Linked DNA regions of Homo sapiens: region 2 is linked to region 1. Evidence: promoter capture Hi-C in human tissues and cell types (Jung and others, 2019). All regions are on one chromosome and are shown on one strand. Each heading gives the region's core, a stretch centred on a gene start or on the middle of the fragment in contact. The rest is flanking DNA. Distances are from core to core; before and after follow the strand shown. Region 1 holds the start of SLC16A10 (solute carrier family 16 member 10). Region 2 has its middle 8.6 kb from the start of AMD1.

What was found. The method cuts DNA at HindIII sites, captures the fragments that hold promoters and counts their contacts. A contact is called where the count stands out against the background at its distance.
Region 2: a contact is called between a fragment that was not itself captured here and the fragment with the promoter of SLC16A10 in region 1, in 1 of the 25 tissues and cell types used here (liver).

Annotation. Positions count from the first base shown.
Region 1 is chr6:111,086,017-111,088,836 of GRCh38, forward strand. It overlaps SLC16A10 (solute carrier family 16 member 10), which reads left to right and starts at 1,487. Exons shown (of 6, transcript NM_018593.5): 1 at 1,487-2,079. The coding sequence starts at 1,737. RefSeq lists silencers at 1,168-1,847, 1,878-2,057 and an enhancer at 1,870-2,370. The HindIII fragment of the contact is 15,668 bases long and covers 1-2,820 here.
Region 2 is chr6:110,864,787-110,867,486 of GRCh38, forward strand. It overlaps a transcript of AMD1 not described here. Among named protein-coding and RNA genes, the nearest start is that of AMD1, 8.6 kb to the right of the region's middle. RefSeq lists a silencer at 1,620-1,914. The HindIII fragment of the contact is 5,977 bases long and covers 1-2,700 here.

The DNA.
Region 1 (2,820 bases), core at 237-2,736:
ACTTACATCAGTACTGACTCGTGGATAATTCTTACATATGTGTTTGTTTGTGTGCATGCAAATATATAATCGATGTGCTTTCTTTGCCCAATAATATGTTGTGGACAACTTTCAAAGTCAATAAATACAGATGACCTTCAGAACTTTTAGAGGTTTTAAAGTAAGTATCTAATCAGTCTTCTACCAATGTACATTATACTTCCAAATTTTCCTTATTTCCAACAATACTGGGGTATCATCTTCATACATACATTTTTGTGCACTTATGTGCCTATTCCTTTGTTTACTATTTTACCCTCATTTCTAAGGCAGATTACACTTGAGCTATGTTCCCCATTCCACAACCAAGCACGGCTTGCTTTCCTTAGTTTATGCTATTTTCTCTACCTGGAATGCTCTTTTCCTGTCTTGACCCACTGAAGTCGTATGTATGAATCAGGGCTTCGGCCAAAGGCTGTTTGCTGTAGAGGCTCTTCTACAGTGTTTGGAGAGAATTTAAGGGACTATCTCATCTCTCTCTTTTGTACATGTATTATAACACATCATCTGAGCCTCCTAGTCTCTCCCAGGACTCTTTTTTCCTACCAGTTTATCAACTGATAAGAGGCAGAAACGAGATCAATCGCACTCATCTGTGTACTCTATCACAGTGGTGGGCACATCAAGTAACTAGCATATTTTGACTTTGATTGAAGTGAAGAATACGAATAACAGAAATTAAGAAGCATCCTCAATATTGCATAGCAGGTTACTCTTCTTTTCTTTTACATAGGATGGCACTCCATGCTTCAGGGAGACAGAGGAGTTGAATACAGGTTTTAGTTTTTGTTTAAAGTGAAAACGACTCTGATGTAGTTGAAAAGTAATGCTTTCTAGCTGTCTGTTAAAAATGTTTGTTGGTTGAAGACTTCGGAATTGCAGTCCAGTGAGGACTGAAAATAAGCATCTTTGGTGTGCCAAATATTCATAAGGAAATTGTATACGAATGCAAGAGAATGGAACTGAAGTAATAAAATAAGGGCTCTGATCCTTCAGATGACTTATTTAAGAAGCCAGGTGGCATAACGAATCTTACATATTATAATTAGTACTGAGAGGTGAATGCCAAAACATAAAACAAACACAATCGAGACAATGTTAGTGTGACTGTGACGCTGTGTCGGTGAGTTGAGGCTAACGATCCAGTGTGGCTCTCCTGAAGGCCCACCGCGCCCGCACCTAGGAGACGCGCCCCTTCTGCTCATGCTTTGAGGCGGGGTGACCCACACATCTGTGCCCCTCTCTGAGCAGGAGGAGGCCCCGTCGCAGACGCGCGCGCAGACAGCGTCTGCCGCGGGCACCTGGGGCCGCGCGCCGCGGGGCGCCCCGCCTCCGCTCTCCGAGGCCCAATCATCTGGAGGCTGTGGGGGCACGTCCCGCTCCCGGCCACGCCCCCAGCCGGCGGGGCGGGGGGTGCTTTTAAGAACCGGCGGCTGGCAGTGGGCTCAGTCGGGGGTGCGGGGCTGTGACCTAGAGGCTTCAGTGTCGATCCCCGAGGTGTTCGCGCGCGCCAGCTGTCCTCGCGGCCGCCTGCGCGCTGGCCGCCTGCGCGCTGCCAGCCCGCCCGCCCGCCAGGGGCTCCGCCGCCCTCGCCTCGGCCTCGTTAGCCCGCCAGGAGCCCCGCAGCTCCTCCGGGAGCCCGCTGGTAACTCGCGTCCCTCGCGCTTCTCCGGCGCCTGAGGGGCCCGCCTCGGGCCATGGTGCTCTCCCAGGAGGAGCCGGACTCCGCGCGGGGCACGAGCGAGGCGCAGCCGCTCGGCCCCGCGCCCACGGGGGCCGCTCCGCCGCCCGGCCCGGGACCCTCGGACAGCCCCGAGGCGGCTGTCGAGAAGGTGGAGGTGGAGCTGGCGGGGCCGGCGACCGCGGAGCCCCATGAGCCCCCCGAACCCCCCGAGGGCGGCTGGGGCTGGCTGGTGATGCTGGCGGCCATGTGGTGCAACGGGTCGGTGTTCGGCATCCAGAACGCTTGCGGGGTGCTCTTCGTGTCCATGCTGGAAACCTTCGGCTCCAAAGACGATGACAAGATGGTCTTTAAGACAGGTGAGGCGCGGCGCCCGCCGAGGCCAGCCTGGGCGACCCGCGTGGGGCCCCCGAGCGCATCCCGCGTGTGGGCTGTGTCTGCCTCCGAGTGTGCATGTCGGTGGGTCCCTGTGCCAGAGGGTGCGAGCAGGGGGGTCTTTCGAGTTGCAGACAGAGCCTGCCGCTTCTGGGGCCTCGGGGTGCCCGTCTTTATATGGAATCCAGCTGCAGAGCTGTGTGTTTGCAAGCAGGTCGCAGAACTTACTTGCCGAGATCGTCCTCCTTTCCCCTCAGCAGAGCAGACGCTAACAGTCCACAGGAGCCCTTCCTTTTATTGTTTGAAAACAAACAGAACCCCAGAACCTTCAACCCCAGTCATCGCCCTGTCATTTTTGTGGTCTCTTTCGTGACTATGCCAGTTATGTAGTTCTTCACCTGCCTCCCTGGGCCGCAGAGGGGTGTGCGTATGTTGGCGGGGCGGGGGGTGGAGTTTGGAGGAATGAAAGAGATTTGTACGAAGGTCACTGGAGTTCCAAAGGGGGCCCTGCAAGAGTCACGGTTCCGTGCGTTCCCGTCCCCCCGCCTTTTTTTGCCCTCTGGGTTAAATGTAGAAAACACGGGAGGCAGCCGGATTAGGGACTAGGATGAGGAAGGTGAAGGGTTGCTTCTTCCCTCTTCCTGTTGTGTTTTTTGACATTTTTTTTTAACCATATAGTAAATTAGATACAAAAGGTGCAGATTCAGCGTTTTCTCCCTGTAGAG
Region 2 (2,700 bases), core at 40-2,539, 220 kb before region 1:
AGAGGGGCCCCTGCCCTTAACCTGGCTTGTCACAAATAAATGCCAAAATGCGTTTATAAAATAACACACAGATACCTTTGTTACTTGGAATCCAGCATACAGGCTGGCATTGTATGACTTACAAACTTAAACATCCACTCCTGGAAATAACACCTATTAGACCCCAGGGAAACACTTCACATCACTTGCTCTATGTCTACAAAACAAAAGGCAACCGAATACAAATGCCATAAAGCTTTATGGTTTCTGCAGCTGTTGAAGTAGGAGAAAGACCTTGCTTTGGAATGTGGGGAGGATTCCAAACAGCAGAAACAGATAAAAGACAAAATAATTAGCTTGTCAAATAAGTTCTTCCTCTCAGTGTGAATGCAATAGCTTTTGGCTTAATAGAGTATCTTTTCCTAGTGTCAAGCATTTTCTTGCTTTTCTTAGGACACCAGAGATGCCCACAAATTAGGATGAAATTTCAGATGGGTAGCTGAGGAACATTTTGCAAAACTGAGCAATTTTATATTATTCTTAAATGTTTGTATAGATGTAACAAAGTATGATACTGATTCTTCACATTTGTAGCAAAAGGGACATGGAATGTTAAAATTGCAGATAGTTTTTTTTGTTTGTTTATTTTCTTGAGTCTCACTCTGTCACCCAGTCTGAAGCACAGTGGCGTGATCTTGGCTCACTGCAACCTCCACCTCCCAGGTTCAAGCAATTCTCCTGCCTCAGCCTCCCGAGTAGCTCGGATTATAGGCGTGTGCCACCATGCCTGGCTAATTTTTGGATTTTTTAGCAGACACAGGGTTTCACCATGTTGGCCAGTCTGGTCTTGAACTCCTGACCTCAGGTGATCTATCCACCTCAGCCTCCCAAAGTGCTGGGATCACAGGCGTGAGCCACTGAGCCTGGCCCAAATTGCAGATAGTTTAATTCTATTAAAATGTTTAATAAGCTTTCATTAAATTTTCTTTTTTTCTTTCTTTCTTTTTTTTTGTTTGAGATAGAGTCTCACTCTGTTGCCCAGGCTAGAGTGCAGTGGTGCAATCTCGGCTCACTGCAACCTCTACCTCCTGGGTTCAAACAATTCCTCTGCCTCAGCCTCCTGAATAGCTGGGATTACAGGTTCCTGCCACCATGCCCAGCTAATTTTTGAATTTTCAGTAGAGATGAGGTTTCACCATGTTGGCCAGGCTGGTCTCGAACTCCTGACCTCAGGTGATCTGCCCGCCTCGGCCTCCCAAAGTGCTGGGATTACAGGTGTGACCCACCATGCCTGGCCTTCATTAAATTTTCAAAAAATTAAATTAAAAAACTTCAGCCTTATCTACATAATTTTAATTTTAAGTTTTATTAATTTTAGTTCATTTATTGATTGTTTTAAAGTTTTAATAGATAATCAAGGTTACAGGAAATACAGCTTTTGGAAATATCTGAAAATAATTTCCTGATTATTTTACAATTTCCATAAAATAATGGAAATGTAATATAAAATGGAAATGTAAAGGTTTTTTAACATGCACCTTAATTCATATTTTATACACTGTAGGGATCAAAAGAGGGCTTTCCCCTTGGCCCTCTGAAGGTTCACTGAAAATCACTGTCATGAGGCAGTTTAATGGAAGAGCAGGCATACAAATTTATTTAACAAGTACACAACGAGCACAAGAGGAAAATCACAAGTCATCGCCCACCCCCATTGTGATTCAGAAGCTTACAGACCACGCTAGCAAAACAGGTTGTGGAAGTAGGGAAAATAATTCTATTACTAGGGAGAATGAATGGATTAGGGAACAGGGATTAAACTGTACATGATCCTGTGAAAAGCTATGTTCAGGTGTAGTTACATTCCTGGCCTTCCAGGGAGGAGAAAAAAATTAATTTTTTTTGATGGTCTGGATCTTAGGAAGATAAAGGAACTCCTGTTTTTCAGAGGGTGGGGGAAGGGAGGGGTGTAAGTCAGAGAGACTTTGAGACTTCCTCAGTTCACCAAGCCATATATGGTGGTATCGGTTTCTGAGCTCCAACAACACTTTCTTTTTTTTTTTTTGAGACAGAGTTTCACTCTTGTTGCCCAGGCTGGAGTGCAATGGCGCAATCTTGGCTCACTGCAACCTCCGCCTCCCCGGTTCAAGCTAGTCTCCTGCCTCAGCCTCCCGAGTAGCTGGGATTACATGCGCCCAACATCGTGCCCAGCTAATTTTTTGTATTTTTAGTAGAGACGGGGTTTCACCGTGTTAGCCAGGATGGTCTCGATCTCCTGACCTCGTGATCCACCCGCCTCGGCCTCCCAAAGTGCTGGGATTACAGGCGTGAGCCACCGGGCCTGGCCCAACAACACTTTCTAAACAATTACTTTTTCTTTTCTTTTTTTCTTTTTTTTTTTAGAGACTCTCTCGCTCTCTTGCCTAGGCTGGAGTACAGTGGCTCAATCATAGCTCACTGTAACCTCAAATTCCTGGGTTCCGAGCAATCCTCCTGCCTCAGCTTCCCAAATAGCTGGGACTACAAGCATGAGCCACTGTGCTAGCCCAATTAGTTTTTTAATCATTTAAATAACAGAATAAGTATAGTTGAGATTATAACATAAAAAGTAAATACAGGCCAGGTGTGGTGGCTCACACCTGTAATCCCAGCACTTTGGGAGGCTGAGAGGGGGGATCACTTGAGGTCAGGAGTTAGAGACCAGCCTGGTCAACATGGCAA